Regions from separate parts of the Homo sapiens genome. Here all the other regions are linked to region 5. The links are contacts of gene promoters, found by promoter capture Hi-C in blood cells and fetal thymus (Javierre and others, 2016). All regions are on one chromosome and are shown on one strand. Each heading gives the region's core, a stretch centred on a gene start or on the middle of the fragment in contact. The rest is flanking DNA. Distances are from core to core; before and after follow the strand shown. Region 1 has its middle 32 kb from the start of CIMIP1. Region 2 has its middle 45 kb from the start of LINC01742. Region 3 has its middle 58 kb from the start of CIMIP1. Region 4 holds the start of LOC105372693 (a long non-coding RNA gene). Region 5 holds the start of ZBP1 (Z-DNA binding protein 1).

What was found. The method cuts DNA at HindIII sites, captures the fragments that hold promoters and counts their contacts. A CHiCAGO score of 5 or more calls a contact.
Region 1: a fragment that was not itself captured here is called in contact with the fragment with the promoter of ZBP1 in region 5 in 1 of 17 cell types (endothelial precursors); the score reaches 8.7 in endothelial precursors.
Region 2: a fragment that was not itself captured here is called in contact with the fragment with the promoter of ZBP1 in region 5 in 2 of 17 cell types (M2 macrophages and endothelial precursors); the score reaches 5.1 in M2 macrophages.
Region 3: a fragment that was not itself captured here is called in contact with the fragment with the promoter of ZBP1 in region 5 in 4 of 17 cell types (endothelial precursors, megakaryocytes, M1 macrophages and 1 more); the score reaches 12.3 in endothelial precursors.
Region 4: a fragment that was not itself captured here is called in contact with the fragment with the promoter of ZBP1 in region 5 in 1 of 17 cell types (M1 macrophages); the score reaches 6.0 in M1 macrophages.

Annotation. Positions count from the first base shown.
Region 1 is chr20:58,116,428-58,121,346 of GRCh38, reverse strand. No RefSeq gene overlaps it. Among named protein-coding and RNA genes, the nearest start is that of CIMIP1, 32 kb to the left of the region's middle. The HindIII fragment of the contact is 272 bases long and covers 1,716-1,987 here.
Region 2 is chr20:58,046,780-58,051,408 of GRCh38, reverse strand. No RefSeq gene overlaps it. Among named protein-coding and RNA genes, the nearest start is that of LINC01742, 45 kb to the right of the region's middle. RefSeq lists a silencer at 2,982-3,276. The HindIII fragment of the contact is 1,501 bases long and covers 2,110-3,610 here.
Region 3 is chr20:58,090,925-58,095,240 of GRCh38, reverse strand. No RefSeq gene overlaps it. Among named protein-coding and RNA genes, the nearest start is that of CIMIP1, 58 kb to the left of the region's middle. The HindIII fragment of the contact is 3,746 bases long and covers 1-3,441 here.
Region 4 is chr20:57,996,062-58,000,455 of GRCh38, reverse strand. It overlaps LOC105372693 (a long non-coding RNA gene), which reads left to right and starts at 894. Exons shown (of 6, transcript XR_007067678.1): 1 at 894-1,226; 2 at 4,284-4,394. The HindIII fragment of the contact is 175 bases long and covers 3,052-3,226 here.
Region 5 is chr20:57,618,171-57,622,990 of GRCh38, reverse strand. It overlaps ZBP1 (Z-DNA binding protein 1), which reads left to right and starts at 2,565. Exons shown (of 8, transcript NM_030776.3): 1 at 2,565-2,729. The coding sequence starts at 2,696. RefSeq lists enhancers at 2,316-2,605, 2,736-2,785, 3,866-3,975, 4,153-4,820. The HindIII fragment of the contact is 9,795 bases long and covers 1-4,766 here.

The DNA of each region.
Region 1 (4,919 bases), core at 602-3,101, 500 kb before region 5:
AATCGGTATATCTTTTATTCCCTTTTCCTGTCTTATTGCTCTACCTAGGACTTCTGGCATAAAGGTGAATAAGAGTGGTGAGAGGGGACATCTCAGTCTTATTGCCAACCTTAAGGGAAAAGCATCTGTTTCTCCTCATTAAGTATAATATTAGGTGTAGGTTTTTGTAAATGTTCTTCTTCTTTCTTTCCTCCTCGTCCTCCTCGTCCTCCTTCTCCTCCTTCTTCTCTTTACTCTGCTTTCTTCTTCTTCTTTTCTGAGATAGGGTCTGACTCTATTGCCCAGCCTGGAGTACAGTGGCAATATCATAGCTCACTGTAACCTCAAGCTTCTGGTCTCAAAGTGACCTTCCTGCCTCAGCCTCCTGAGTAGCTAGGACTACAGGCCTGTGCTACCACACCCTGCTAACTGTTTTTTTACTTTTTGTAGAGATGGGGTCTTGCTATGTTGCTGAAGGTGGTCTTGAACTCCTTGCCTCAAGGGATCCTCTTGCCTCAGCCTCTCAAAGCAGTGGGATTACAGGCATGAGCCACCATGCCCAGCCTGTTTTTTTATTAAGTTGACAAAGTTTTCCTCTATTCTTAGTTTGCTGAGAAACTTTATCATGGACATTGGATATTGTCAAATGCTTTTCTGGATCATTTGATTATATTACATAATTGTTCCCCTTTTGCCAGTCATGGTGGTGGATTACATTAATTGATATTTGAGTGTTGAACCAGCCTTGAATATCTGGAATAAATTCCACTTGGACCTGGGGCATAATTTTAAAAATACATTGTTGGATTCAATTTTCTAATGTTTGTGCACAGTTTTTGGAGTTTTTATACATCAATAATTATGTCATTTGTGAACAAAGACACTTTTATTGAAGATTCTAATCTATATTCATCAGATAGATTGGTGTGCATCTTTACTTTTTGTAATATCTTTCTATGGTTTTGATGTCAGGGTAATTCTGGACTTATAGAATGAATCAAGAAGTGTTTTCTCTGATTTCTACTCTATTTTTTTAAATTGAAATTTTTTTTTTTTTTTTTTTTGGTACAGATGGGGTCTCCCTCTCTTACCCAGGCTGTCTCAAACTCCTGGCCTCAAGCAGTCCTCCCACCTTGGCTTTCCAAAGCACTGGGATTACGGGCATGATGATTCTGTTTTCTAAATGAGAGCATAGAGAATTTTTATTTTTTTTCCTTAAATGTTTGGTAAGACTCATCGGTAAAGTCATCTGCTCCTGGTGATTACATTTTAAGAAGGTTATTAACTATTGATTCAATTAATTAGATAGATATTGGGCTATTTAGCTGGTCTCCTTCTACTTGTGGGAATTTTGGTAGTCCATGTCTTTCCATCAATTGGTTATTTCATCTAAATGATTAAAATGAGGGGCACTGACATAGAGTTGTTTGTAGTATTCCTTTAACATCTTTTCAATGTCCGTGGGATCAGTAGTGATGACCCTTGTTTCATTTCTAATGTTGGCAATTTGTGTGTGTGTGTGTGTCTCTCTCTTTTTTCTTGATTAGCTAGGCTAGAAATCTATCAATTTTGTTCATCTTTTCAAAGAACCAGCTTTTGGTTTCACTGCTTTTCTCTGTTGCTTTTCTGTTTAAATTTTCATAGACTTTTGCCCTAATTTTTGTTATTTCTTTTCCTCTGCTTGCTTTAGGCCTAATTTGCTTAAATTCTTCCTATAATTTCCTATGATGTAAGCTTGGGTTATCAATTTCAAATCTTTTTTCTTTTCTAAAATCTACATGTAATGCTATAATTTTTCCTCTAAGCACTACCTTTGCTGCATCTCACAAATTTAGATAGGTTGTACTTTCATTTTCACTTAGTTCAAAATATTTCTTAATTTATCTTGAGACTTCTTTGACATGTGTTCCAAACATTTGGGGAATTTTCAAGCTATCTTTCTAGTATGGATTTGCAGTTTAATTTCATTGTGGAAGCATATTTTATATGATTTATGTTCTTTTAAGCTTTTTAAGGTGTGTTATGGGCAAGAAAATTTTCTATCTTGGTGCATGTTCCATGTAAGCTTGAGAAGAATGTGTATTTGGCTTTTGTTGGATGGAGTATTCTGTATATGTCAATCAGATCAAGTTGACTGATAGTGCTATTTATGTCAACTACATCATTATTGATTTTCCTCCTGCTTGAGCTATCAATAACTGACATGACAGTGTTGAAATCTCTAGCTATAACAGTGGATTTGTCTGTGACTACTTTCACTTCTATCTGTTTTTGACTCACGTATTTTGAAGCTCTGTTGCTAGTTGCATATTTAGGATTATCATATCTTCTTGGAGAATTGACCCCTTTATGATTATATAATATTCATTTTTAATCCCTGATAATTTTCCATCTTCTGAAGTCTACTTTGTCTAAAATTATTATAGCTGCTCTGGCTTTCTTGGTTTGCACGGTATATTTTTCTCTACTTCCTTACTCTTAACTTATCAGAGTCTTTATATTTAAACTTTGTTTCCGATAGACAATGTGTAGTTGAGTCTTGTTTTTTATTCATTCTGACAATCTCTGCCTTTTAATTGGTGTAATTAGACCATTCACATTTAAAGTGCTTATTGATACATACATTGATTAATATCAACCATGTTTGTAACTGCTTTCTATTTGTTGCCAGAAGCAATGTTTTCTGCCTCTCTGGTTTTAATTTAGCCTTTCATATGATTCCATTTTATCTCCTCACTTAGTGTATTAACTATGCTTCTTTAAAAACAGTTTTTAGTGGTTGCCGTAGAGTTTGCTATATACATTTTTAACTAATTTAAGTCCGTCTTAAAATAATACATTTACACTTCATGTGTAATGCAGCTATTTCATATCAGAATATTCCTAATTCCTTCCTCCTATCTCTTGTGGCATTGTTTTCATTCATTTCACTTATCCATATGCTATAATCCCCCAACACAATGTTATTATTTGCTATTGAATTGTGTCCCCTCAAATTCATATGTTGGAACCCTAACCGCCATTGTGATTGTGTTTTTAGGTAGGTAGGGCCTAGAAGGAGGCAATTCAGCTTAAATAAGGTCATAAAGATGGGTCTCTGATCTGATAGGACTGGTGTCCTTACAAGAAGAAATTCCAGAAAGCTCCTCTCCTTTCTCTCTCTCCACATGAATGCACCAAGGTCAGGCCATGTGAGGACAAGAAGCTTCCTGCTTCTGGCATTTCCTAGTAAGAATAAGAAGAGTCCTTACCAGAAAATGAGTCAGCTGGAACTTGATGCTGGGCTTTCAAGTCTCCAGAACTGCAAGAAAATAAATTTCTGTTGTTTAAGACACCCAGTTTGTGGTATTTTGTCATGGTAGCCTAGGCAGACTAAGATATTATTACTTTAAACAATCTGTTATTGTTTAGATTAATGAAGAATAAGAAAAATAAAAGATTTTATTTTCATTTGTCTTCTCTGATGATTTTTTTAAAAACGTATATCCAGCTTTCTGACATCTGTCATTTTTCTTCTGACTAAAGAAAATTTCTTGCAGAGCAGGTCTGAGAGCAACACATTCCCTCAGTTTTTATTTACAAAAGTCTTTATTTCTCCTTCACTTTTGAAGGATATTTTAGCTGGATATGGAAGTCTAAGTTGTCTTTTCCCCATTCAACACTTTAAATATTTCACTTGACTATTCTTCCTTGCATAGTTTCTGATGAGAAGTCTGCTTACAATTCTATCCTTCTTCCTCTAGAGGTAAGGTTTTCCCCATCTCTGCCTTCTTTCAAAATTTTCTCTTCATCTCTGGTTTTCTGCAGTTTGCATATGATATGCTTAGATGTAACTTTTTGGTGTTCTCTGAACCTCCTGGGCCTGTAGTTTGATAAATGCCATTAATTTTGGAAAGTTCTTGGCTATTACTACCTCAAATATTGTCCCCCATTCTCTTTTTTCTCCTTGCATTTTAATTGCATGTACCTTACATCTTCTGAAATGTTCCCACACTTCATGGGTATTCTGTTTTGTTTCTATTATTATTTTGTTTTCTCTTTGCATTTCGGTTTGGGAAGTTTCTATCGATGTATCTTCAGGCTCACTAATTCTCTCCACAGCCTCGTCCAGTCTACAGATGAGTGCATCTAAGGCAGTCTTCATTTCTGTTAGAAATGTTAGCATTTCCTTTTGATTATTTCTTAGAATTTTTATTTCTCTGGTTACATTATCAATCCGTTTTTGCATGTTTTCTACTTTTTCCCAATAGAGTCCTTAATGTATTAATCATAGTTATTTGAAACTCCCTGTCTGATAATTTCAACATCTGTGTCATATTTGAGTCTGATTCTGATGTTTGCCGTGTCTCTTCAGGCTGTGTGTTTTTTCTTTCTTCCTTTTGGGTGTCCTTTTAAATTTTTTGTTGAAACCAGACATGGTGTATCAGGTAGCAGGAATTGAGCTAAGTAGGCCATTAGTGTGAGGATTTATGTTAATTTTACTTAGAGTTGGTCTGTGTTTAATGTTTGCTATATCTGTAGGTGCCAGAGATTTCAAATTTCTTTAGGTCTTTATTTTTTCCCCACTCTTGACTTTGAACTTCTCCAAGCCCTCCTCAGAGAGAGTACTGCTTCTTGGAGCCCTTTCAGCTGTAATTCACTGCTGTTATACTGGAACCCTGTTGGTGAGGTGGTAAATTGCGGGAAAAGGGGAGTGTTCTATATAATCTTCAGATTAAATCTCAGTCTTCCAGGGGTCCTGTGTCTGGCCTGTGACCTTCGCAACTGTTTCTCCCACCTGTAGGTGAGACAGGAAAGCTAGAGGGGGCTGCAGTGAGAAAATGCCCTTCCCCAAGCTGGGATAAGCCTGGACAGTCTTTCCCCTGGGGAATGGGCCTTCGTTATGGAGAAGGCTCTGGTGGCTTTTTTTTTTTTTTTAAATAAGAATTACTCTTCCTCTC
Region 2 (4,629 bases), core at 1,611-4,110, 430 kb before region 5:
TTCCTTTACCCAAGTTTTGATTGGGTGACTTTGTTGTTAATTTGTAAAGAGTTCTTTGTAGATTCTGGATACAAGACTCTAATCCAATACATGATTTACAAATATTTTCTCCCATTCTGTGGGTTGTCTTTTCACTTTCTTGATCATGTCCATTGAAGCAAAAAAGGTTTTAATTTTGATGAAATACAATCTATTTTTTCAAAGGCTCGTGCTTTAGCTGTTAAAGCTAATAAACTGCTGCCAAATCCAAAGTTAGGGATTGTGTTGAATCTGCATATCAATTTGGGGGGTATCACCATTTTAGCAATATTAAGCCTTTCAATCCATGAACATAGCAACTATTTAGGTTTTAAAAATTTTCTCTAAGTAATATTTTATAGTTTTTGATGTATATGTCTTGAACTTTTTTGTTAGATTTATTTATAAGTATTTTATTTTTCTGATGCTATTGTAAGTGGAATTATTTTATTGGATTCATTTTTTGGATTGTTCATTGCTAATGTGTGGGAGTACAATTGATTTTTGTATATTGATCTTGTACCTTATAATCTTTCTGAACTTGTTCATGAACTCTCATAGTTTATTGGCAAAATTCTTAGGATTTTATATATGCAAGATCATGTCATCTTCAAATAGAGGTGGCTTTACTTCTTTCCTTATAGATGCCTTTTATTTCATTTTTTTGGTCTAATTGCTTGCTAGAACCTCCAGTACAATTGCAATGGCAAAAGTAGACATCCTTGTCTTGTTCCTGATCTTATGGGGAAAGCACCCAGTCTTTCACGATTAAGTATCATATTAGCTTAGACTTTTTCATAGGTGCCCTTTATCCAGTTGAAGAAGTTTCCTACTATTTAAAGTGTGTTGAGTATTTTTGTCTTGACAAGTATTTTTGTCTTGACAGGAGTATTTTGTCTCAATTTTATCAGATACGTTTTCTGTATCTACTGAAAAGATCAGGTGATTTTCCCCCTTAATTCTATAATATGGTGTGTTACATTGTTTTTCATGGGTGGCCACTGAAATGTCTGCTCAGTTAGCTTACTGGGGAGCTCAAGAGTGGACAGACATTTCCTCAAATGCCTGGACTAATAAGTCTCCCAATTTTTGCCACAGTACTCTGTGTGCATGCTGGGCATACTTTCAATACTTGGTCAGGAAATTGGCAACTCTGCCCTAACTTTCACTTTCTACTTGCGTAGACCCTCAGGTCATACAGAATTGAGAGCACAGAGCCTTCTCAAGTCTCTCCTGAGCATGCCTACAGCCCTACACATGCACGGGGCTTTCTAGATTCTCAGGAATATGTTGGAACTTTGCAAAGCCCCTACGGACATCTTATTTGCCAGTTTTTTCTTTTTAAATTTTTTGGTTAGCCCACACTTTTCCCAACTGTTGCTCACCATCTTAGGCAGTCAGAAAGCTAAGCAGTTACTTTTAATTGTTTTCAGCAAATGCTTAGACTTTTCAAAGTGGGCAAAATTCAAGTAAGACCTACAGTTTACTTGCTATGGGTTGGCAAATACATGTCAGTTATTCATCATTACAGTATCTTACACAATAGTTTCACGACCCTAAGAATGCTCTTCATTCATTCCTACCCCCTACCTTTGAACCTCTGGCAACCACTGATCTTGGTCAGAAGGCAAGACAACCTTGCAAGTAGAGTTCTCCAGGGACCCACCAGACAAGTCAAGTCGTAACAGTTCTCTGGGAATGAGGTTTGAAGGGGCTACAATCTTGTTTTGTCCCCTACAGTAGCTGTCAGGCCACCGGTTTTTACCCTGATTGCAGGGCTGATTTCAACCTGATTTCAAGGCTAACTCAGAGCAGAAGAGAAGGGGATGGAAATACGGAAAGTTAAAATGCCATGAAGCTCCCTGTTCTTACTGAAATTCAGCCTTTCTTCCTGAATGCATGCAATCTAGATTGCTTCAAGCCTTTGGTTAATTTCCAGAATTCTGAAAAAGTTGATTCCGGAATTTTTGCCAGTTTTTGTCATGAGTTTCATGGAATAGAGAAGTTTCCATTCCTGCTGCTACTTCTATGATTTCCTTTTATTCATGGTAAATGAATCTGAATATCCATTTTTGATGATTATATCAAGCTTCCCTTTTAAATAAATGTATGTATGTTTTAAAAAAGTGAGTGGAGGAAGCCAGTCTGAAAAGGCTACATACTATGTGATTCTGACTCTATGACATTCTGGGAAGGCAAAACTATGGAGACAATAAAAATATTAGTGGTTGCCAGGGGTTCAAGGGTAGGGGGTAGGAATGAATGAGTGAACAGAGAGCATTTTTAGGGTGGTGAAACTATTCTGTAAGATACTGTAATGATGGATATATGACATGAATTTGTTAACCCATAGAACGGTACAACACAGAGTGAACCTTCAAGAAAACTGTAGGCATTAGTTAATGATAATGTATTAGTCTTGGTTCATCAAGTGTACCACATGTACCAAACAAATGCAAGATGTTAATAATAGGGAAAATGTGTGCAGGGAGGAGGTATATGAGAACTCTCTGTACTTTCTGTTCGGTTTTTCTGTAAATCTAAAACTGCTCTAAAAAATAAGACCTACTAAAACTTTTAAAAGGGTTGATTTTAGGAAATATATTTGGCATAGAATGATAGGTGGTGTAAGAGTATGGCAAAAATCATGTGGGAGGTATGTGGGTGACTGACATTTGGGAAACATGATGTAAGAAATATGTGTTAAGACTGGGGTCTCTGTAATGCAAGAGAATGGATAAAGGACTTTAACACATGAATCAAAACAAAGATTATTTAATATGCAACACCAAGTACAGCTGGTTGTGAGTGTTCTCTGCTTCCAAGGTTAAGAATGACTTGGGAAAATAACAGGAGACCAGAAAAAAAAAAAAAAGACAAACATCTAATACAAGGCATCCACTGGCCAACAGAAAAGCTCACCGGGAGTTGAGAGAGGAGACAGGTAAGACTTGTTGGAAAGACCCAGTGAAAAACCAAGGAGGCTGTGAAAAGCATGAATTGGACGATAAGAATCTTTTAGCTTCCCAAGAGGGCTCTAACCACCTGACATTGGCAGGCTTCATGCTTCTTGCCAGTACCATGGACAGCAGCCAGAAATAGCTTCATGACCCAGCAGGCCAAGGGTTTCTTGTCTTCATTCCAGGTTGTCTGGTTTTGTGTTAGTTTCTGCTTGGAACACAAGGATGAGCAAGGAGTTCATCTGCTAGTGGGCGACCTGACCCTCTCACAAGGAGCTAAACATGAGGCCAGGAAGCATGGGGTGCCCTGGATATAGCTTAGGAATGCTCAGTCCAAACTACCACTTGCCCAAGGTCACAGATCTAGGGACAGAGCATTGCCCCTCTTGGAGTCTCCCTTTCCTCTTCTGCAAAAAGAGTTTGATCCTCAACCAAGCCTGTGAGTGGCACAGAGTAGGTGAGGACAGATATTCAGTGAAAGGCCTTCCAAAGCATCCTTCCTTGGGAGCAGGGCAGTGACCATGCTTATCTTGTTTGGTGCTGTATTTTGCTTCCTAGCACAACATCTGGAACATAGGTGACACTTCAGCAAATGTTCAAGGGAGAAAGAAAGGAGGGGAAGGAGGAAAGCTTGCTCCTCTCCCTGTGCTCGGCCTGTAGTACAGGACCTGACACCCAGGACTCCACCGCCTCATCCCTCCTTCCTGCACAGCCGTGGCTCTCTTACAGACAACAGATGCGAGGCTTAGGAGGCAGCCTTATCTTGGAGATCGAGACCATCCTGGCTAACACGGTGAAACCCCATCTCTACTGAAAATACAAAAAAAAAAAAAAAATTAGCCAGGCGCGGTGGCTCACGCCTGTAATCCCAGCACTTTGGGAGGCTGAGGCGAGTGGATCATGAGGTCAGGAGATGGAGACCATCCCGGCTAACATGGTGAAACCCCGTCTCTACTAAAAATACAAAAAAAAAAAAAAGCCAGGCGTGTTGGCTGGCGCCTGTAGTCCCAGCTATTTGGGAGGCTGAGGCAGGAGAATGGCATGAACCCGGGAGGCGGGGCTTGCAGTGAGCCGAGATTGCACCACTCCACTCCAGCCTGGGCGACAGAGCAAGACTCTGTCTCAAAAAAAAAAAAAAAAAGGAGGCAGCCTTATCTTGCTATTTGACTCATCTTTGGCAGTGGATGGAGCTCACGAGGGGCTGTAGGAGGCTTATCCCCAGGGCAGGGCCCACTATGAGGCATGGAGGGGAAGGAACCTTGAGCATGTCCCTTCACTCCGTCTCTCAGCCCGGGAGCCTGCCTTTCAGAATCGGTTCAGAAGCATTGCTCCCACTGTATTTCTAATTGAAGACACCTGGTGAGGCCCAGTCCCTGGGGAGTCTGGTTTGCAGGAGGCCAGCCCGCCAGGCTTTTGTGATGAAGTCACAGACCCTTGATGTATTATTCAGCCTGGCTACCAATCAATGCCAGATGCCATCCATCCTCCGCTGGTTCCCCTGCAGGGCCCTCTGCTGTTTTGGAAGCAAGTGCTAAAATCTAAGGAGAAAGAGTCTGCCTTTGTCTCATCGCAGCATAAATACCTGGCCCCAGTTGCCGGGGAGTAATGTTTGTTCCACATTGACTGATTTTGTTATTTTCGGTTTTCTTGC
Region 3 (4,316 bases), core at 319-2,818, 470 kb before region 5:
TTTAAATGCCCTTCATTCTCATTACTAGAAAAATGAGGGCTTGAGCCATTTTAGATGCATGTTTAAAGAAATAATTAATTTTATAGTAGCCAATGCACCACCTGCCATATACAGTTTAAAGCATTTTTTCATACATTTTATCATTGGATTCTTAAAGCACTCCTCTGAGGCAGGAACTATTGTCATGCCCATTCTGCAGGTGAAGAAACCGAGACACAGAAAAGCCAGGCAGCTCATCCTGGTCCCACAGCTTGGACCTGGCTCCAGAACACGTGTGTAAATGCTCCCATATGCCCCTCTCTGTTCTTGTTTATCGGCCATGAAGCTGAGGCCAAATCACTCAGGAAGTAGGAGCAACCAGGTAGGGTGGCCAAGAGTCTCAGTTTTCCCAGGGGAATCCTGGGTGAGGACTCAGTGCTGAAATGAGGTCACCTTAGATCCAGGGCCTCTGCTCCCCACTGCCCTTGGGCCTCCCACCTCCTCTGCTGCCTGTCAGCCCCTCAGAGTCCTGGCAAGACATCAGAGGTGTTGGGGGAGGACGTAATTGGAGGAAATAACTGGAATTTGAGCGACGTGCTCTCATTTATAGCACAGGGGGAACTGGTCAGTTCCCAGCTCCTAGGCTGAGGGTAGTGGGACAGGTGATGTGGCAGGATTTGGTGTTTTCAAAGATCACCCTGGCTACAACTCCAAGAGTGATCTGAGAGGGACAGGAGTAGTCACAGGGAGCCCCTTCTAGGCTGTGGCTGGGGAGCGGGGATGCACAAGGACGCCCCACTCATCTCCACATCCCCAGGGCAGAGCAGTTTCTGGCACGTAGCAATTGTCCAGCCAAGGTTTGTGGAGTGAGGGACACCTCACTGAGGTATGAAGCCCCCGTCTTCCCGAGCAGCAGCTCACGCAGGGCAAATGTGGCCTCACTGCGGCCTGAGGCTCAGTCAAAATCCCTATACCGGCTGCTCAAAGTGTGGTCCCCACAGTGGCAGCAGCGGCCCCACCTGGGAGCCTGCTAGAAATGGAGATCTCCATTAGAGAAATGCAAATCAAAACCCAGTGAGGTCCCACCTCATGCCAGTCAGCATGGTGATTATTAAAAAGTCAAGAAACAACAGATGCTGGAGGTTGCGGAGAAATAGCTTTTACACTGTTGGTGAGAAGGTAAATTAGCTCAACTATTGCAAAAGGCAGTGTGGCGATGCCTCAAAGATCTAGAACAGGAAATACCATTTGACCCAGCAATCCCATTATTGGGTATATACCCAAAGGAATATAAATCATTCTATTATAAAGATACATTCACACGTATGTTTACTGCAGCACTATTCGCAATAGCAAAGACATGGAATCAATCCAAATGATAAACTGGATAATGAAAATGTGGTACATACATGCCATAGAATACTATACAACCATAAAAAGGAATGAGATCATGTCCTTTGCAGGCACACGGATGAAGCTGGATGCCACTGTCCTCAGCACACTAACACAGGAACAGAAAACCAAATACTGCATGTTCTTACTCATAAGTGGGAGCTGATCAATGAGAACACGTGGACACAGGGAGGGGAACAACACACACTGGGGCCTGTTGGAAGGTAGGGTTTGGGGAGGGAGAGCATTAGAAAAAAATAGCTAATGCATGCGGGGCTTAATACCTAGGTGGTGGGTTGATAGGTGCGGCAAACCACCGTGGCACACGTTTACCTATGTAACAAACCTGCACATCCTGCACATGTACCCTGAAACTTAAAATAAAAATAAAAACTAACAAAAAAAAAAGAAAAAAAATGGAGACCATCTAGGTACCATCCAAACCTGCTGGATCAGAAGCTCTGGGGTTAGGCCTCGGCCATCCGTGTTTTAACAAGTCCTCTGGGCGAGTCCGTGATGTGGATGCAAGGTCAAGTTTGAGAGCCCCCACTAGCAAGGAATGATGATCATTTGGGTGCATCTGGCATTGGGATGCACATTTGAAGGCCGTGTACAAATAAACCATTTCTGAGTTGTCCGACAAATGGGCTCAGCCGTCACCTCCTGCTTGGAGGCGATTTTGCCAGAAAGGGGCAGCCAGAAAGGGGCGTTGACTCCACGTCTTACCTCCCCTGCTCTCCATGGGCCTGCTGAGCTCTGGCTTCCTCTCCATCCTCAATTCTAAAGAGAGGAGCCTGCTGTCCATGTACCCATGGTGGTGAGAGGGCCACCGTGTCCTTCTAACTTGCCCAGTACCATGTTGGCACAGCCTTGCCAGAACTTGAGCTCACCACCCCCACCCCCAGCTGCAGGCCCTTCCCCAGGCCGATGCTCACCTGTTCACCCGAGCAGGCTGCCCAGTGCCTCTTACTTCACCGAGTCTTCCTTTCACGGGAGAGGCAGGCAGTGGCACTCGCCACAACGCCACTCCCTCCTGGTACCTTAGCTTCATGGGCATCATTCCCTGATCCTGAGTGATTAATTTCCAGCAAATCCTGCTGTGAGCCAGGTCACCAAGGTGGTGACATTGCCTTTCTTTTGCCCAATCCTGAGGTCTCGGGGTGTTATGGAAACTGGAACTTAGCTTGACTCAGTTCACCTTTAGGCCTTTATTCAGCTCTTCCTGCATCCCCTGGAGAATGTTAGGTGCTTGGGAGAGGGTGGTTTATAAAAAGGCAGGAGTTAGTGTCCTCAGTTTGCTTCTAATCCAGTTGAGGTGTTTGTTTCCCAGGGTTGCTGGGTGACTTAAACAACAGAATTTATTCTCGCACGGTCCTGAAACCTGGAAGCTAGAAATCAAGGCATTGGCAGGGTCAATTCTCTCAAGCCTCAGAGGCAGAGTTTTCTCCGCACCTCTCTCCCAGTGGCTGGTGGCCAATCTCTGCATCTTCACATGGCCTTCTTCTCTCTGTGTCTGTGTTTCAAATCTCCCTTTTCTTATAAGAACACCCTAAATCCAAAGGACTTCTCCAAAGAGTTGTTCACATCTCCAAAAAGCCTACTTCCAAATCAGCTGTCATTCACAGCTGCAGGGGTTAGGATATGGATACGGCCTTTTGGGGCTGCTTTTCACAGTCCTGGGAGTCTGGGGGCTGCTTTTCACACTCCTGGGAGTTTGGGGGCTGTTTTTCACACTGCTGGGCTGCTTTTTACACTCTATGGAACAACGTTGGGACAGGCGAGGCTGGATGAGGCTGAAGCAGCTGTGCCCTGTTGAGAGAAGAGAGGACCATGGTTTTCCCTGATAGCCAGAGCTCCCCAAACACCCCCAGTGTGGGAACATCTCCCCCATCGGCAGGGAGTCCCCTACTCCTCAGAGCTGGTGCTAGCCCTGGTTGGGTATGTTCTGAGGATTCAGCGTCACGATCCCCAAACTCAGCGAATGATTAGAATCACAGGCAGAGAAATTCGAACCCAAAGATTGGATCAGTCCCTCTGGTGCAGCCCAGGGCTCGATCTTTCTCTGAAGCTTCCCAGCCAGCTTTGAGACTTCCTCTTTAGCATAAAATGGATGGTTCTATTAGATTAGAGTTGTCAGAGGTAAAACCCAGGATGCCAAGTTAAGCTTCAATTTCAGATCAACAATTTTTTTTTTAGTATAAGGATGTCCCAAATATTTAGTATACGTATGGCAGATACTCATACTAAAAATATTTGTTTATCTGAAATTTAAATGTAACTGGCATATTGTAGGTTTCTTCTTAAGTCAGATTTCTTGCATGTTTTCCCATGTGAATAGTCATTGACATGTTGAGCATTTATTGAGCACTTTCTGTGTTTCAAGCCACGTTCTAGGCCCTGAGAAAGCAGGTTCGTGGAATCCCTGCCCTGAAAGACCTTACATTCTTGTTGAGGGCAGGGAGTCCAGGAGAAAGCTGACAAAATCAGATAAATTAAAAAACAAGACAACTTCAGCTGGCGAAGGCGTTCACGAGGGGGCTCCTGGGCTGAGTTTTGGAGGAGGCAGAGTAGCTCGTCACGCAAAGCTCTTCCTGGAGAAGTCCAGGCAGAGGGAATAGTGGTCGGAGTGAAGTTGGTGTGTTCCAGGAAGGGAGGGAAAGCCAGGTGGCTGGAGCAGAGCGAGCAGAGGCCATGGTGGCCGCTACAGACTGAACATTTGTGTTCTCACTCTCCAGTTCATTTGCTGACACCTCATCCCCAGTGTGATTGCACTTGGAGGTACAGCCTTGGGAAGTGAGTACCAGAGAGCTGCCTTGCCCCTTCTACCGTGCGTGCACACAGAGAGAAGATGGCCCTTCATGAAGAATCAGGCTCTCAATAGACACTGAACCTGCCGACACCTTGACCTTGGACTTCCAGCCTCCAGAACCGTGAGAAATGTTTCT
Region 4 (4,394 bases), core at 1,890-4,389, 380 kb before region 5:
CCTGTAATCCCAGCACTTTGGGAGGCCGAGGCGGGCAGATCACGAGGTCAGGAGATCAAGACCATCCTGGCTAACACGGTGAAACCCTGTCTCTACTAAAAATACAAAAATTAGCCAGGCGTGGTGGCGGGCGCCTGTAGTCCCAGCTACTCGGGAGGCTGAGGCAGGAGAATGGTGGGTGAACCCAGGAGGCAGAGCTTGCAGTGAGCCGAGATCGTGCCACTGCACTCCCCCCTAGGCGACAGAGCAAGACTCCGTCTCAAAACAAAACAAAACAAAACAAAACAAAACAAAACAAAACAAAACCCTAAGTTAGGTTGGAGTCAGTCATGGGCTTAGACACACCATTTGGATTTTTTTAAAAAAAACTCTAGCGCAAGAAAGGGGCTATTGTGCCCACGGCAAAGAAGCCTTTGGTTAGAAAGAGTTAAGCTTGTGTCCTGGTGAAGGAAGGTGGCTCCAGGGGAAGTTTCTGAAAAGCCAGATTTTCTCAGTGTGGCTGTTCACAAGCCCAGGCCAGGAAGCCTTTTATCAACACCCCCGTCCCCCACTCTTCTCACCCCAGGTTTAAAAAATAATCTAATCTAACAGATGTTTCCATCTGCAGAACAATAGGCTGTGTGTGAGGGGCTTGTTTGTGCACCTGACAGTCATAATTGTTCAAACGTTTATAAGCTGTGGGGTTATGAGGAAAAGGTTTTTAAGAGACTCAAAGAAATGAGGAAATGGTGCTTGGAACCACCCTCTCCTGCAGGGTTGGGACTGGCTGCATTTCCACTTCCCCTAGCGTTTTATTATGAAAATTTTCAAAAATACAGAAGCATTGAAGGAATCGGCGAGCACCCAGACACTCCCTGCCGAGGCCGCCCTGACAGTCGGCTGTGCACGTTGTCACTCCTCCATCCGCCTGTTCTCTGTGCCAGCTGCATCTGAAACGACACTCGCTGTCGGAGGTGGCTTTCCCTCCACAGGGAGGGCATTCCCACCGCCGTGGGGGTTTGGCCGTGACTTTTGAAGGATATTTTTATGCAGAATGTGGTATTTGAGAAGGAGTGGGCCAAGAAATGTGAGCCACTGTTCTTTTCATTTTCTTCCAGGCTCAGCGGCACTTTCTGCCTTTGCATAAAAGCCAGCACAATCCTGCCCGAGGTGGTCCACGCCCTGGTGGCTGCGCTAAGTGCTCCCCACACACCGTGTTCAGTCCTTACAGCTGACCTGAGCCCCAGGTATTATTATTATTCTCCCCATATTCCATGGGCAGAAATTGAACCTCAATGAGGTAAATGGACATTTCCGGGGCCCCCTGGCTTGGAAGTGGCAGGAGGAGGGCGTAGACCCCCAGTCCCAGCCACGTGCCACACCACCAGGACCAAGCCTCCAACTTCTCTCCACCTAGTCTGATGCCTGGCACACTGTAGTCACTCCACAAATGCCTGTTGAATGAACTGAGTTAAAAACCCCCTTTTACAGAATGTGTTGGAAAAACTGAGGCTTAGAAGTCAGATGGGTAGAGGGTAGGGGAACACCATCAACAGCCCCTGGTTGTCATCACTTCTTGTCTCTGACTGTTGTGGGGCAGGAAGTTTCCTTACTCTACAGGTCTCCCCCAGGCTATGATACTTCTTCCTGAGCCCTACCCGGAAGCCCTTCCAGCTGCCCCCATGGAAGACACACATTCTGCTTAAAGCTCCTCCAGGATGACAGGCTTGTGCTGATTTCTGTCCTGTTGAAAGGCCATGTGAAGAAGTGGAAAGAACCCAACCTCCCAGGGTCCTACAAACCTAGAGCTAAACCCAGCTTCCGGCCATGATTAGCTGTGTAAACTTGAGCAAGTTATTTTTATCTCAACTTCTCTGTGTGTAAAAAGATGGTGACCATACCTCCTGAAGAGAGCTGACGTGGGTTTAGAGACAGAGAGAGGAGGCGAGCAGCATGGAGTACCCAGCCGGTGCTCAAGGAGACGCTGTTCTCCAGGAACCTCTGCTAGGCTTGGGGCTGTGTCACGTGATTTTCACATGAAGGGATTAGAACTGGGCTGGGGCCTCTGTGATCTCTGACCATGAGGATAGTTGGATCCATATCTTCTGGGCAATGTGACAGAAGGGCCCCCTCCCCACACACAGCTCTGTAAGGTGCCTTTTACTCTGCTGGTTTGCCCAGGGCATGATTTACTTGGGCAATCCCACCAGAATTCAACAATGAATCATATATGATTCCTGTCTGTTTCTTTTGTATTGATCCCCCTTTCTGCCCTCAGGTTGCTGAAAGACTATAAAAGAGACATTTTTTCGCCCTCTGTTTTGGGACCAAGACTACACAGCAAAGGGCTTAGTGTGATTCAGTGCTACCAATGCAACCCATGCAAACTCAACCTAACCTAACCCACCCAGCCCAACCCTCCCCACCTCAAACCAACTTAACCCAACCCAACCTAATCCAACCCAGCCCTACCCAACTCAAACCAACTCAACTCTAGCCAACCCAACCCAACTCACCTCAACTTAAACCAAGTCAATTCAGCTCAACCCAACCCACTCCAACCAACCCACCCAAATCAAGCCAACCCAATTCTAGCCAGCCCAACCCAACTCACCTCAACTCAAACTAACTCAACTCAGCCCAACCCAGCTCAATGGCAACAGTTGTTCAATGGAAAGCACATGGGATTTGGAGTTAAATAGACCTAAGTTGAAATCTCAGCTTTTCCAGTTACAGGCTATGTGACCTTGGCCAAGTCACTTCACTTCTGAGTCTGCTTCCTCATCTTAAAACAGAGGGGAAAATCTTGTATTTGCCAGTATAGAAGATTCATTTTCTGTTTCTCAGATGCCTCCTTGTGTGACACCATCAAGTCCACCATAAACCAATGGATGGAATAACTCTCAGCAACTTGTCCCTTTCCTCCCCTGCTCCCCTTGGGTAAGAAACTGTGCAAGCTTCAAGAACAGCAGAAAGAAGAGGCATCTCCAAACCAGTCTTCCTGGCTACTTGGCAGTTCTCCAAGAAGACTTGGCTAGTCTGGGGTAGTAGATAATATCTTTCAGAAAAGCTTCCTGGTAAAATTGAGTGACTTATATACTAGCTAATCTTTAGACTGCAAATACAGTAATTTCTAGGCATTGTAGTGAGGATGGATAGTAATACGTGGCACTCACACTAAATACTGAGAAATCACTGCAGTCACCACTGCTACTGTTACCACCATTGAGATAGTAGAATAGAAGCTTTCTTCACCTGTCTTCACATCACTGAGCCACTAACCAGTGCTCTCCCCTGCCACTGTAAACATTCTGTGGCCGCCCACAGTGCTCTGAAAGTTGGAGGCTGGTCAGTGACACCTCAGTGAGCTCTCCCACATCTGCCTTCATTCAATGAGTCATTTGATTAACAAGAGTCTGTGGATTGTTCCCATGCCTTCTAATGCCAGTTATATTTGTAACTTTAATTTCAAAATTCAACTGAATTACTTACTATATAAACTAAAAAACTATGAGTGTGAAAGCAAGAGAATAGTTGCTTCTGTGAAAAATAAGTCAAATGCTGTGGAATGACTTGAAAAATATGAGTTCCTAAAAAATATGCTGAACAATGCAGTGAGGAAGAAACTACTGTAAAGATGAAAAAATACACAAACAATGAAGGATTCTGCATTCAGATATCTTTGTAAGTGCCCTTTAATTTTTACTTCACTTTAAAGGATTGGAAACTATAAATGCTGGTGACTGTAAAAATGGGTGTGGTTTATGTAAAAGATTACTATGCAACTCCAAACAGCAGAAATAAAAACACCTTGGTGTGCTCACAAAGATTAGTAAGTGGATGTACCAGTGGGTCATTAAATCATCAGTTTTAACTGCTTCGGGTTAGAGGGATTTGACGGCACTGGAACTGCCACATGGGCATTAAGGAAGCCACATGTGAGTCCTGGGGCTTGGTTCTGCAGTGGGCTTCAAGCACTGGTATGAGCCGAATGTGAACAAATCATGTGTAGTGGGAAAAAACACAAGCTTGGCATATAGACAGATGGACTCACGCCCTCCACTCCACTTGCTTGCTGTGTGACCTTGCGTGCACCATGTCATTTCTCAGAGCCATGATTTCTTCCTTGGCAAAAGGAGGTGCTAATATCTATCTCACAGGCTATAGAGGCCGAGGGAGGGTAGGGGAAGCCCTAAGCCAAATTTTGGCCCAGAAGAGGGACTGCAAATAGCACTCACATTCCCCTCTGCAGTGTGCTTCCAGTTCCATGCATCCAGTGTGAACCTGACTTTCTTATCTCCCAGGGATTTCTCAGCCAAGCATCAATGAATCTTGAATCTCAGCTGATGACACTCCTGGGCAAAATGGCTATGAAACTGGAAAGATGTCTATGAAACACACAGTCCCTCAAGCCA
Region 5 (4,820 bases), core at 1,316-3,815:
GTGGTGGGCTGTGTCAAGACCAACACTGGGAGGCCAGGCCGGAAGAGCACAAAGAACTGCCTGGAGGCTTCACAGAGAAACAGCTGGAATCTGACTCCTTCCAGGAAAGATGAGTGAAGAAACCACGATGAGTGACTGAAGAGACAGGAAGAATAAAGGATGATGCAGGACAAGGCAGTGGGAGGGGTGGGCACGTCTTGGAGCTGTGATTCATCAAGTCTGGAGTCCAACCATGGGTTGGGGTAGGAGCTCCTCCCTGCAGATCAGAGGGAACTTGAAGCCAAGGTGCGCCCAAGCCCAGGTTGGTGAGCGGCATCACCTGGTGGCCAGTTCGGGCGTGGCACCCCAGACACCCAAGGGACTCAGCCTTGCAGGGCTCAGCCGGAGCCCCTTCCGGAGGGCACCTTCATCATCTCCCTCAGCACCCCACCTACCCCCCCATTTAAAGAGCACTATTGTTATTTCATAGGGTGATACCTGCAGTTTTCGCTTTTACATAAAAGGAGAATAAAAGCATCCTGCAGTTTGCTGTTATTGACTTGCCCCAGACTTACTGGTTCTCCACCTGGAAGCAGGAAAAGTCACCCAGGAGCATAAAAAATCTCACCCTCGGGCCCCAGCCGCAGAGGTTGGAGTTGACTAGTCTGGGCCGGCCTGGGCATTGAGACTTTTTTTTTGCTTCAAACACTTAACATGCAGGCAGGGCGGAAGACCTGGGCTCCAGGTGCTCGCTCTGCAAAGACAGATAGCTTCAGGATAAACCTCCGGACCCCCTTTCCATTTGTATTTGCCGCTAAGCTGCTCCTTATGCATAAATGGGGTCTGCAAGGAGCACAGACGTCTCTAGCCCTCCCAGCCCTCTGCAGATGAGACACAGACCCCAAGTCCAGGGACTTCCAGGGCTGAGCTCTCAACCCCCTTGGCTGCCAAAAGCTGGGGGGCCTTGTACACAGCATTCACCTCTGTGGGCCTCAGTTCCTCCTTCTGTGATCTGGAAGAGAACAGTGGCTCTGAGTTTTTCTGAGGTCACTGGCCCTTTTGAGAATTATGTAAGCAACGGGTCCTCTCCCAGAAGCATTCCTGTGAGGTGACCACGGTGCCCGTGACTACGGATGGCTCTGGGGCTCTAGCCCGACAGCTGGGCTGTATCAGCCCCTTAGGTCCTCACCTCGACCCCATGCGCTAGGTCCTTTGATTAAGTCCTTTTACACATGGGGAAACTGAGGCACAGAGGGGTTAAATAATTTGTCCGAGGTCACACAGCCGGTAAATGGCGGAGCCAGGTTTGGACCCAAGCATGCTGACCCAGGCTTGCATTCCGAACCACTCGGCTGCTGACCCCAGGCATCTGACTCTGGAATTAATAAGCAAGTTTTATGATGAGGCGGGGAACTCCACGCCATCTGTGCACTAAGGGTGATTCACCAGTGACTTCTGGGTGTTATAGATCAGGAAACACAATTGGGGAATGGACAGGACAAGCTCTGTCATGGACTCTGTGTGGCCTTGGACAAGTGATCTTGCCTTTCTAGCCTCAGTTTCCCCCCTGAGAAGAAGACAGAACTGGCCCCTACCCTGTAGATGGGTTGGAGGAGCACTTGAGATTGGAAAACGCATAATAGGTGTTCATTAAAGAGGCTCACATGGATACACACAAGAACAATCTCAGGGCCTTCACGCACCTAAATGTTCTGCCCCTAGTGTGGGCAAGGGAAACAAACTGGAAGAAGACAAGAAAAGCCACTGAGAGCTGGGGACGGTGCCTCTGTAGCACCTGTGAGTCCCCGAGGAGGAAGTACTACAGGAACCAGCGGGGCCGGGCGTGGGGGCTTGCGGCTGGAATCCCAGCACTGTGGGAGGCCAAGGCAGGCAGATCGCTTGAGCCCAGGAGTTTGAGACCAGCCTGGGCAACACGATGAAACCCCATCTCTACAGAAAATACAAAAATTAGCCGGGCATGGTGGTCTAGGCCTGTGGTCCCAGCTACTAGGGAGGCTGAGAGGTGGGAGGATCGCTGGAGTCCGGAAGGTCGAGGCTGCCGTGAGCCGTGATCACGCCACTGCACTCCAGCCTGGATGACAGAAACCCTGTCTCAAAAACAAACAAAAACACAGAAACCAGATAACCAGCCCCAGCCCCTCACATCATCAGAGTGATGCCACGCCCTGGCATCCCCCTCCACGTGGTGCATGCTCTTTTTTTTATTTTTATTTTCTTCAGTTCTCTGATGCTGATTCAGAAAATAAAAATGTAGAGGTCCAGGTGGGCTGTGCCTGGAACGGGGAAGGTGAGGGAAGTCCTCTGTCTCAAAGGCCTCTTCGGAGGACGCTCTGGTCTTGCCAAGTTTACAGCTCCTCCCTGTCAACATCAAGTCAGGTCCCCAACTCTGTCTTGCTCATCCACCTGGCTTCCACTTTTTTTTTCTTTCAAAAGACGAACAGAGAAGTTTCATTTTCTTTTTCTCCTGAAACCGAATCTGGCCGGCCTGGCTAGGCATCTATTTCCGGGCTGTAAGCAGCTGACACCTGCCCAGTGGAAGCTGGCATCCCTCCCCTTGTGGGTTCAGAGCTGCAAGAAGCACCAGGCTCGGCCACTTCAGAAGCCCCAGCCTCGACCTAGCCCACCCTCTCAGGGCCACAGTGCAGAAGCCTGCACACCTGCCAAGTCTCTCCGACTCCTTGCAGCTGCTGTCAGCATGGCCCAGGCTCCTGCTGACCCGGGCAGAGAAGGTACAGTACTTCTTCCTTCCAAGGACCAGCGGTAGCTCCCGGGGTGAGATTTCTACTTCTCTTTCCTCCTGTTTCGCTTGGTCCAGATCATGATGACAATAGCAGTATCCTAAAGAATAGTAGACCAGCTGGGCGTGGTGGCTCACGCCTGTAATCCCAGCACTTTGGGAGGCGAGGTAGGTGGACTGTTTAAGCTCAGGAGTTTGACACTAGCCTGGCCAACATGGCGAAACCCCATCTCTACTAAAATTACAAAAATTAACCGGGCATGGTGGCGCATGCCTGTGATCCCAGCTACTCGGGATGCTGAGGCTGGAGAATCGCTTGAACCCGGGAGGTGGAAGTTGTAGTGAGCTGAGATGTCGCCATTGCACTCCAGACTGGGTGACAGAGTGAGATTCCATCTCAGAAAAAAAAAAAAAAAATAGAAAGGGACAGCATAGCCATCCCCCTTTGACAGCTGACTGTGCCCCAGGCACCTCGAAACATGCTTTCCAAGCATTTCCTGATGGCCTGCAGGGACAAGTGCCATGTCATTCCCATTTTATAGATAACTGAGGCCCTGAGAGGTGAAATGACACTCTCAGGGTAACACAGCTGGCGAACGCTGGTGTTAGCGTCTGAACACCCATGTCACAGTCATATCGAGAACAAAGCGGTTTGCTTTGATGAGATACATGTGTGCCTTTGTTCCCCCTTGTTGCATCCTTTCCTCAACTAACATTTCATTCATTTTATTCCTGGAAGAGTTGCAATGAAAGCCAATAGTGTATCGAGTAATTGCTGTTCTCTAGGGTCTCCACTAAGCGCTGTGGACTGTAGGTGAAGTGTGGTTTTGCGGTTTGGGGGATGTGTTTGTTTTGTTTTTAATCCTCACCACAATCTTTGAAGTAGTTATTACTGTCTCCATTTCACAGAAGAGGAACCTGAAGCCGGAGGGGAGGTCACACAGCTAGTAGTTGGCAGGGCTAGGAGCTCAAACCCAGGAAATCAGCCATCAGAATTTTAAAAAACCAACACAGAGTGTGCCCCGGGAGGGCTAATGTCAGGGTGTGGCCCAGGAGCCGGGCTGACCGCGGAGGTCCTGTGGAGCTTCCTCTTCGGGGACTCACGGGTGCTGACGCAGGTTCCGGACTCAGCCCTCGCTGGCTTTTCTTGTCTTCCTCCCCAGTTGATTTTCCTTTTGTGACCAAATTGTTGCCTACACCTGCTCCATTTTACAATTTCCCATTTTCAGACACAGTAGCCTGGGACTCAGCAGTCGAGGCCAGCCCAGGGCCAGTGCTTGTCCTGCATCCACACCTCTGACCCCCATCTCCTCTGGGGTGTGTGGAGCCGAGGCAGTGGCTCCCTAAGGTCAGCCTTCCAGAATCAAAACTGCGGCCAGGCGCAGTGGCTCACGCCTGCAATCCCAGCACTTTGGGAGGCTGAGTTGCGGGGATCACCCAAGGTCAGGAGTTTGACACCAGCCTGGCCAAAAAGGGAAACCCTGTCTCTACTAAAAATACAAAAATCAGCCGGGTGTAGTGGTGCGTGCCTGTAATCTCAGCTACTTGAGAGACTGAGGCAAGAGAATTGCTTGAACCCAGGAGGTGGAGGTTGCAGTGAGCCGAGATCACACCACTGCAGCCGCAGACCAGGCAACAAGAACGAAATTCCATCTCAAAACCAAAAAACAAAAAACTCTGCGAGACAAGGTGAAGCCAGGTGTGAAGTCAGGTGCATGGAGGTGCTGCTGGCTGCCGGTGGGGGAGTTTGGTGGGCGCAGGAGTGGGAATTCCCAGGTCTTCTAATTGGTCTTCACCTGCACACGGCAAGCCGGTCAGCGTTGTAACCATCAGGGTGAGGCACAAACTGATTCTTCCCTCCCCTACAAGTGCTGTGACCAAGGAACCCTGGGCAAACCTGGAGAATCCTCTGAACAGGAAAGAAAGCCCAGATGACAAAGGACTGAGTCACTGTCCTGGAAGGGGAACTCAGGTCTTTCCAAGAAGGGCTCTCCCATGCACTGCCCTCAGGTTCCTTGAAGCAGAAGCTTCCTGGTGACAGGTGGGGCCCCCGCCCACAGTGGCTCTCCCAGGCTGCTGGCTG